Linked DNA regions of Homo sapiens: all the other regions are linked to region 3. Evidence: promoter capture Hi-C in 16 types of primary human blood cells and fetal thymus (Javierre and others, 2016). All regions are on one chromosome and are shown on one strand. Each heading gives the region's core, a stretch centred on a gene start or on the middle of the fragment in contact. The rest is flanking DNA. Distances are from core to core; before and after follow the strand shown. Region 1 overlaps KCNMA1 (potassium calcium-activated channel subfamily M alpha 1). Region 2 overlaps KCNMA1 (potassium calcium-activated channel subfamily M alpha 1). Region 3 holds the start of LRMDA (leucine rich melanocyte differentiation associated).

Region 1 (3,120 bases), core at 538-3,037, 1.7 Mb after region 3:
ATCACTGTCGCATATTGCTGAGCTAAAACGACAAATGTAGAAACGTGGAGTAGAAGGCGACTGGCAGTTAGCACTGAAACTATGAAAGATAACAACACTCTTCCATGTTCCTTGAGGGATACATTCCAAGACCTCCCAGTGGATGCCTGAAACCTCAGATAGTGCCAAATCCTATATGCATTATATACACACACCTACGGTAAAATTTAACTTATAAATTAGCACAGGAAGGGATTAACAATGGCAATAATAAAATAGAACAATTATGACAATATGTACCAGCATCACTATACTTGCGCTTTGGGGCCGTTATTAAGTAAAATAAGGGTTAGTTGAACACAGGTAACATGGGTTACAGCAAGACATCGGTCTGCCCACTGAAGTGCCCTGAGAGACTAATGGCCAGGGAGTGCAGATGGCACGGATGTGCTGGACAAAGGGAGGATTCTTGTCCCAGATGGAACCAAGCAGGACAGCATGCAACTTAAACATTATGAATTGTTTATTTCTAGAATTTCCTATTTAATATTTTCAGACTACGGTTGCCTGGGGATAACTGAAACCTCAGGAAGCAAAACCATAGATAAGAGGCACTCCTGTAGAAATACATGCTAGCAATGTATTAGCCATTTAGTGTTTAATCCTGAACATTCTGTGTGTGCATAGATATGCTTTTATTTATGGAACTAAAAATAGAATACAAACAACCTGAACTTCAAACTGGATTTCTTCTTTTTATCTTTAAACGATGGTGTTTGTATCGTATATCCATTGCTGATTGGCAGCTTGCCACATTTGAGTGAGTTACACAAATATAGTAGAATAAAAGCTTTTCTTTTAATTAAGGTGCATGAAAGTAAGGGCAGGAAAGAAATGAATGCAGAGGCCACAAGGTCCTATACTCTTGCTAGACACAAACTGCAGATCTAGCTCTGAGCACCTTCTTAACAAAAGCAAGCAGGCAGACAGGATAAGATCAATAGTGTATACATATGAGAGAAAAACAAACTGGCTTGCAGGAGAATCATTTATTTTTCCCAACATGGAGACCAGAGGGAAATATCTCCTTGCAAAAGGGACCCAGGGTGATGCAGGAGCAAGACCCCTGTGGGCTGAACAAGGGTGGCCTTTGCTTATTTGACTGCCTCATACTGGGCATTTTTATGGCACTGAGTTTCACTAATGCAAATGAGCCAATGAAGTTCTCCATAGGTTAAAAAAGTCAGTCTACATTTCATCCTCAGATCAAGCCAGACTATCTGGAGAAATGGTTGGTCTTTCAGGAATCATTCACAATAGCTTCCGTATTAGTCCGTTCTCACTCTGCTAATAAAGACATACCCGAGACTGGGTAATTTATAAAGGAAAGAGGTTTAATTGACTCAATTCCACAGGGCTGGAGAAGCCTCAGGAAACTTACAGTCATGGCAGAAGGGGAAGCAAACACATCCTACTTCACATGGTGGCAGGAAGGAGAAGTGTTGAGCATAAGAGGGAAAAGCCCCTTATAAAACCATCAGATTTCGTGAGAACTCACTATCACGAGAACAGCAGCATGGGGGTAACTGCCCCCATGATTCAATTACCTTCCACAGGGCCCCTCCTACAACATAGGGGTATTATGGGAACTACAATTCAAGATGAGATTTGGGTAGGGACACAGCCAAACCATATCAGCTTCCTAACCGCTTTCTGCCCTGGACCCCTTGTGTTCTCTGCTCAGAAGCCTCCAATGCCACCCATTCCACACAGAGTAAAAGTCAAAGTCTTTCAAAGGCCTAAAGCAACACCATCCCACCACCAGCACTATCTCCTTTTGGATCTGATGGCTTCCTACTGTCACTCCTACTACTGTCCGCTGATCTGGCAGATGTCTTCAGTGACACTTGAACACACAGGTATGCTACTGCCCCAGGGCCTCTGCACATGCAGCCTCTCTGCCTGGAATGCTGTTTGCCAGATGCCCACATGGCATACTCCCTCACCTCCTTTGGGTTCTTACTCAATGTCCCTTGATCAGCGTGACTTTCCCTGGCTACCCGACCTAAACATGCAACTCCTCCCACACCACCCGTGCAACTCCCTATCCTCTTTCCTGCTTCACTTTTCTCCTCAGCATGAAGCACTAGCACCTCGGTTATGTGGTTACTTTCTGCCTTCCTCTCTTTAGCATCAGCTCTATGAGGGGAGGAGCTGATGTCTGTTTTGTTCAGGGCTATATTTCCAGCATTGAACATAGTGTCTGGCATAAGGTGAAGGCTCAATAAATCCTTGTTTGAACTGAATGAGTGAATCAAAGTTTTGAGAAATAATTAGACGGCGGAGTTAAAGGTTAGATAATCCACATTCAGAATTCTGAGACTATATGTTGCCTACTAAAGGGAAAAGCCAGAAGCCCTGCGGGGTCCCCTGAGAGAGGTCAGGGCTGCACTCTTGGGAAGTAGAAAGTAGCCTCATCAGGGAAAAGCCTTAACGAATGACCACTCTGGCTATACCCAGAAAGAGCCCAGAAGACTACAGACAGCGACTTCAGGCTAAGAGAGGAGACCAAGATAAGAGAGGTGAGAGGGGGAACTCTTTGGTGACAATTATTCATCTTCTCTATTTTATAATATCTTTTATTATTTTTATTCTATAAAATCTCTGAAATAAATGATTTTCTAAGGTAACACAAAATAGCTATAATAGAGTTGTGAAGAAGAAAATGTGTATATACCAAAAGCCAGGAATTACATGCCCTCCCCAAAAGCTTCCAGGTTCAGAGAGTTTTACAAGTGAGATTTTTACAGTTTCAAAAAATAGTAACTTCTCTATCTATTCTCTATTATATGATCAATTCTTAAAAATGGACTTATCTGTGTTTTTCCATGCTCTGTATTGGTTTAGAAAGTTGGCATTACCTGGACACAAGTTCCCTTGCATTTTTTCTTAAATGGCAAGCTTATCACACTAATGACTAACAACAATAATCCTAAATAAAATACTAGGGTATCATATCCAAGACTGCATTAAATGAATAAAAGACATGAGCTATAGCAGATGCTGTAGGGTACAGCCCAAATCCCCTCTTCAGGGACCTTATTTGTCCTGGGCTCTTGAAGAGTGACCTGCTAAAGGCTC
Region 2 (2,898 bases), core at 129-2,628, 1.5 Mb after region 3:
ATATTATCTGGAATAGGTAGGTAGACAAAAGCCATCATGGAGAAGAGGTTTGAGAAAATGAACAAAATTAACTCTTTCCAGCCCATGAAGAACATATTTCAGTTGCAAGAGGATATTAGCAGACTTGCCCTGAAGATATAGAGCCAGGTTCAAATTCTCTTGCCCTGTTTACTGGTTGGAGAGAAAGTATTACCTCAGGATGACCTGAGACCTGCCCCTAGTGCATTTAGGATTTAAAAGATACTCAGAACTATGTTCCCATAATATCAGCAAGCAAGCAAATGAAACAGCAAGCTGACAAAAAACACTTTTAGAAAATGTGTGCCTTGGGGAAGAGGAGATACATTTTGGTTTGGTATACTTGATTCTTTCTGGGAAGGAGTCAGACGTTGTTAACAGTGGCCTACAACTTTCATCCAGAAAAGCAAATAAGCAAGCCTGATGATCGATCGCCCTTCAATAAAAAGAAAAAAGACAGCTAATGTCAAGCTTCATTAACTGGGGTAGTGGTTTCCAGAAACCAGGCATAATTTCACACTGGAGCTCAAGCCATGGTTTGCAATGGAACATCCAGAGGCATCCAGGAAGTCTTAGAGGTATGCCACACTACACTCTACTCCCCACACATCTCTCATCCTGGCCTGGACCATTTAAATATAAACAATCCAGGATTTCCCCCAAGAGACTGACCTGAGGAACATCAAAAACCTCCCGGAACAAAGACATTACCCTCTCTGACCAGCATGGTACCTGGAATTCTAACTTTGGTTTATTGAATCAGTAAAGCAACCAATTGAATCAGTAAAGCAATCAATAAGAATCCCCTATTCTGAGCATGGAATGGAGGCTACAGTAATGATTAAGATAAAGTCCCTAGTCAAAGAGAGGTCCACAAGATAGCAGGAAAAAAATATATATACACCAATAGTTCAATAGTTACAGTACCTTGTGGCAAGTGTTACAGCAAAGTACAAGGTGATACAAGAATACCAAGAAAAAAGCTGTTCATATCCTGGTATTTGGGTAGCATTAAGGAAGGTTTTGCAAAGAAAGTAGCATTTGGGCCGGGCGTGGTGGCTCAGGCCTGTAATCCCAGCACTTTGGGAGGCCAAGGTGGGCGGATCATGAGGTCAGGAGATCGTGTCCATCCTGGCTAACACGGTGAAACCCCATCTCTATTAAAAATACAAAAAAATTAGCCAGGCATGGTGGTGGGTGCCTGTAGTCCCAGCTACTCTACTCGGGAGGCTGAGGCAGGAGAATGGGGTGAACCCAGGAGGTGGAGCTTGCAGTGAGCCGAGATCACGCCACTACATTCCAGCCTGGGCAACAGAGCGAGACTCTGTCTCAAAAAAAAAAAAAAAAAAAAAAAAATTAGCATTTGATCTGAACCATGAGAAATGAAGAGGAATCTCAGCATGTTGCAGTGTTGATCCACTAATAGCCAGTAGGACCCACCCAGAGAATTGAGGCCCAAATGAAAAGGGCCAAATAATGGCACCTAAAACCATGGCTGAAGATGCCCCATACCATACCACCTAACCTAAGGTACAGAAGACTCAGACCAGGCCTTCCAGCTGTCTCCAGATGTGCAATGACAGTCAAGTTGAAGATGGATTAAACTGATTGAGTATGACTGATTGACAGCAGACTAAGAATGATCCATGAGATTAAGAGAGAACAAAAATCATGGTTCCAAAACAGGAAGATTGTTATAAAAATTGAAAGTAATTCAAAAATGAAATGAGTTGTTGCCCAAGACAGTGGGTTTTCTATCATTGAGCCATTCCACAAGAGCAAGGGATACAGTGAGCATATGCATATAAAGGTTGGGCGAGCCTAGAAGATCCTGAAGGTTTGAAGCACTGTGCTGTCACTGGAGAAAGACACAGCTAGAAGAATTTTGAAAGTACTGGACCATTGTTGGATATCAGAAGGCTGGAGAGCCCTGAGTAGGTAAAGAAAGGTTGCTAGAGTGAAGATGAGAGGTAAGCAGCGTGGGAGAGGGATTAATTTATGGCTCCAGTAAGGGCCAGCACTGTTACACACTCACTGGATTTCACAGTCTGGGAGTAAGCTGGGAACACAATTCGTTCCAGCAACAATAGAGTCTGTAACTGTTTCTGGCCAGACAGTATAAATTTCTTTACTATGGCTGTTGCTGTAGTAATTTCAAGTGCCTTAGGCTGGCCTGTGCTGCAGAGAGATCTCTGGAACAGGTGGAGAGTGTACAGTCAGTTGTCCACAGGGACTAAATCAAAGTTTCTAAAGCTTCTATTGCTAGAAGAAAGTCCAAGCATTTGCCATTGAGCACACCAATCAACACTGCTGTGATCCAGGGAGACCCAGAGGAATTGGGCCGTTTGTTGTATGGAAAGGAGGATCATGAGAAATCTCCCTGAACAAGGGATCCCAACATCTTCAGTTTGCAAGGTGATAGAGACCCACTTCCAAAGCCTCTCCCACAACTCCTCAAAGACCAGTTAGTTGAAATCAAGGACCAGGATTAGATATTGTCTTTCACATCATAATGACATTACCTAAGTCTTCCACTCACAAAGTAATTTTCAATTTCCCTAAAAGGCACCATAATTAATTCAAGGCTCACTTGTCACTTGCGACTTAGCCAATGTACATGCCCTATTTTAGGGTAATAGAAACTCTATGATGTGAGATATATCTGCTGTTTCATTTTTATGGGCTGAACTGTGTTCTCCCCCAAATTTTTATGTGAAGTCTTAACCGCCGGTACCTCAGAATGTGACTGTATTTTGAAATATGGTCTTTAAAGAAGTAATTAAGTTAAAATTAGGTCATTGGGGTGAGTTCTGATCCAATAGGACTGGTGTCCTTACAAGAAGAGGAAATTTGGGCCAACTTTTCCACAGGAGGGAAAAT
Region 3 (3,095 bases), core at 492-2,991:
CAGGGACATACTAAAGATTCTGGACTGTATTAATTATTACTTGATTAGGAGCCATTGAAAGATTTTAGGTAGGATCTAATTGGGCTTTTAAAATGGTTGCCCTGGGGCTATGTGGAGGAGGCAACAGTAGTGAGAGGGTGTGGAAAGGGGGAAAGATGCCAGCCCACTTTGGTGACATTGGTAGTGTCTGCAGAACAGCCTATGCTCAGATGACCCAGCTGTGTATGGAGGCAGGGGGATGGATGAGATGACCTTCAGTAACCCCCTTCTGGTGGGGGAAGGGAGAGCCGTTCTCCAATCTCATCTTTGAGTCAGCTTGGGCCTGTTTCCACAAGTCCTCTTCCATCTGTCAAAGCCCTTCTAGGAAAGCTGAGCTGAAAGGCAGCTGCGGAGGGCAGAGTGCTGGCTGGGTCCGGGCTCACTTCCTCCTTTTCAGGCAGGAAAAGCAGACAAAAGTGCACAATGGACCAGAGAGGGCGCGTCCAGCAGAGAAGGAGGGAGAAGGCGGGGGAGCTGGTCCTTGGGGCAACAGGCCTGGGAAGGTTCCCTTTGATCCCCTTATCTCTGGAGGGTAAGCTTTCTTTTTTGGCCTGCAGGACCTTTTGTTGCAGCATTTCCTGGAATCCCCCAAAGTAAACACAGTCAAGACTGCATTCTTACTGCTCTACTCTTCTGAGCCTGCTCCTCCCAGCTGAGAGAGGGGCAGGAAGGTCAACCCTCCGAGATCAACACTGCTCATCAAAATGCTGACAAGGGCCCACCTAACAATGTGTTAGGACCGGGGCTGTCTGAGAGACGATGCCAGTTAAGGCTGGGCTGGCTCTTAGCTGCAGCAAGAGTGGAAGATGACAACCAGTTGATATCTGGTAGCTCTGTGCATCCTGGACTTGGAGGCAAGAATAGGCAAGGAGAAAATCTGGATCCTTCCAGAGAATTTCAGAGAAAAACAGGCATGGGTTTAGGGAGTTACCTGCCCACTGGGCCTACTTTCATCCAGACAGGAGGCCCGTGGCCAGCTCTTCCAGGTGGGGATGGGGTGGGTGGGGAACAGCGAATAACCCCACTGATAACTTCAAGCCTCACAAATCTCTTGCCCTCTGAGGAGCAGGAGAAGAGAAGCCTGAAATTTGGGGTCACCAGCCAATTATCCTTCCCCAGGGTTTATTATTGTCAACTCTTAGAGGCCACAGGGAAAGGGTGGGGTGGTCTTCACCAAGCCAGCGTTTTATTTATAGGGAAATTCAACCCCCCCAATCCCCCTCCCCTCCTACAAATGGAAACTGGGCCGCACCAGGAGTCCTTCAACCTTCTAACTTTCCCTCTCCCCAGCTTTGATGAGGAGGGGCGTTCAGCCAAGAGGCCCCTCCTCGCTGCAGTTGAGGTCCATTATGTAACCCAGCTTGCGAAATGCAGGAAAGGCCCGGCTGGCTACAGCCCGGCTAACGGCTCAGAAAGGGCGCCCCTGATAGGAATACCCCCACCTCAGGCGTGGCCCAGACAAACGCGATAAAGCTGTGGGCATGGAGTTTTGGGCATTGGGACATCCGGGGGAGGGAGGGGCGCGGGCAGTCGGGGTCAGGCCGCCGTCGGGGCGCGGGGCGCTGCGGGCCACCTGTTGCAGCGGGCGGCCAGGGCTCACCTGCGCGGAGACCGGGCCGAGGGGCGGCGGCGGCGAGCGGCGGAGCTGAGGTCCCCGAGGCTAGCCCGCGCCTCCGGCTTCCGCCGGGTCAGCTGACTGCCCAGTGCGGAACTGTGCGCCCGCCGCGCTCCCCTGCCGCGCTCCCCGCTGCTGCCGCCGCGCCCCCGCGCTCCGTCCCGCGCGCCCGCAGCGTCCTGGCCGCCATGGCCGGGCTCGTGGTGCGTGGAACTCAAGTAAGTCCCGGCCAGCCCCGCCTCCGCCCGGGGCGCAGTCCGCGTGGGGAGGGACAGCGGGGCACAGAGGCTCCCCAGGGCCTAGACACCCCTGTCCCCGCCTCAGGGGGCTGCGTCTGCAGGGGGTGAGCTTCAGGTGCTCAGGCTCGCCCTAGTGGGGCTAGGACAGACCTCGTTTCGGGCCTGGCACACCCCCTTGATGTGCGGGAAGAACACCCGCAAGGTCTCCCGTTCTCCCCACTTCCTTCTGCCCTTAGCGCCTCACTGAGCAGGCCCAGCGGACACAGTGCTGACGGCCCCCGCTGCTTTTGGGGGCCCACAGAAAATGTTCCAATTTCATAATCTGAATTTTAAAAACTTTTGGTCAAAGAATCCATTTTGATAAATCACATTGATATAGTCATCTTTATACCAATGCAGTTGTAATATACAAATTTACTTATTTGTAAATGGAGGAAGGGGTTTATGAAGGCAAAAGTGTCTAGGGTACCCAAAGTCCCAGCACATCCCTGGAGATGAGGGTGCTGGTGGGCCCTGCGCTGAATGGGCTACGCCATAGCCAAAGGCTGATGGAAGGCCACCGACCTCCAGTTCTCTTTCCACACTCGATTTCTTGAACAGGAGTCTGTGATGAATGGCAACACGCCAGTTTCAATCCTGGGTGCCAGACACCCAGTCTCACATGCTTTGAGCTCTGTAGTGAAGCCTCAGGTGTTCATTGTTGGAGGGATGAACCCAGCCACTCTGGGACCAGGTGTCTTTCTTACCTGCTGGAAAAGCCAGTTCTCTGTCTTTAACCTCTTCTCTGCTCTGATGAAGCCAGAGCCCTCTTACTTCCCACCTTTCCCTGCACACCCTGGAGAAATAGTTCTGAGTTTTTGAAGCTCTCCTCTTGGATTGCCTAAGGCAGGTAGTGTCAGGCACAATTGGATTTTGAGATTACTTTGGGCTGAAGGGAATGATTCCTCCTTAGAGGAGATTCTAGGGGTTTTTACAGCTCCTACAGATGCAGTGAGGGCCAACTGTGCAGCCCATTAAACTAGCCGCTGCCTGTTTTCTTTTTTTCCAGAGTCCTGTCGTTTCATCAGGTACACATGTTTATTGAGTGCCTACTGTATGCCAGGCACCATGCCAGGTGTTGTTGGAAATTAGCCTTTCCTTTGTCTCTGTGCACCCCCCATTTAACAGTTTTGTTGCTCAGGAATGCTGGCTCTGTCCCTTGA

Evidence for each region. The method cuts DNA at HindIII sites, captures the fragments that hold promoters and counts their contacts. A CHiCAGO score of 5 or more calls a contact.
Region 1: a fragment that was not itself captured here is called in contact with the fragment with the promoter of LRMDA in region 3 in 1 of 17 cell types (naive CD8 T cells); the score reaches 5.6 in naive CD8 T cells.
Region 2: a fragment that was not itself captured here is called in contact with the fragment with the promoter of LRMDA in region 3 in 1 of 17 cell types (total B cells); the score reaches 5.5 in total B cells.

Annotation. Positions count from the first base shown.
Region 1 is chr10:77,123,510-77,126,629 of GRCh38, forward strand. All of the region lies in intron 5 of KCNMA1 (potassium calcium-activated channel subfamily M alpha 1), which reads right to left. Among named protein-coding and RNA genes, the nearest start is that of KCNMA1-AS2, 16 kb to the right of the region's middle. The HindIII fragment of the contact is 1,920 bases long and covers 828-2,747 here.
Region 2 is chr10:76,955,779-76,958,676 of GRCh38, forward strand. The region is part of intron 20 of KCNMA1 (potassium calcium-activated channel subfamily M alpha 1); the gene reads right to left. The region is part of intron 2 of KCNMA1-AS1 (KCNMA1 antisense RNA 1); the gene reads left to right. Among named protein-coding and RNA genes, the nearest start is that of KCNMA1-AS1, 69 kb to the left of the region's middle. The HindIII fragment of the contact is 1,782 bases long and covers 488-2,269 here.
Region 3 is chr10:75,429,883-75,432,977 of GRCh38, forward strand. LRMDA (leucine rich melanocyte differentiation associated) reads left to right here and starts at 1,742. Exons shown (of 7, transcript NM_001305581.2): 1 at 1,742-1,872. The coding sequence starts at 1,843. LOC107984293 (a long non-coding RNA gene) reads right to left here and starts at 1,728. Exons shown (of 2, transcript XR_001747703.2): 1 at 1,640-1,728; 2 at 1-428. RefSeq lists enhancers at 1,550-2,050, 2,051-2,551 and a silencer at 1,692-1,791. The HindIII fragment of the contact is 4,872 bases long and covers 575-3,095 here.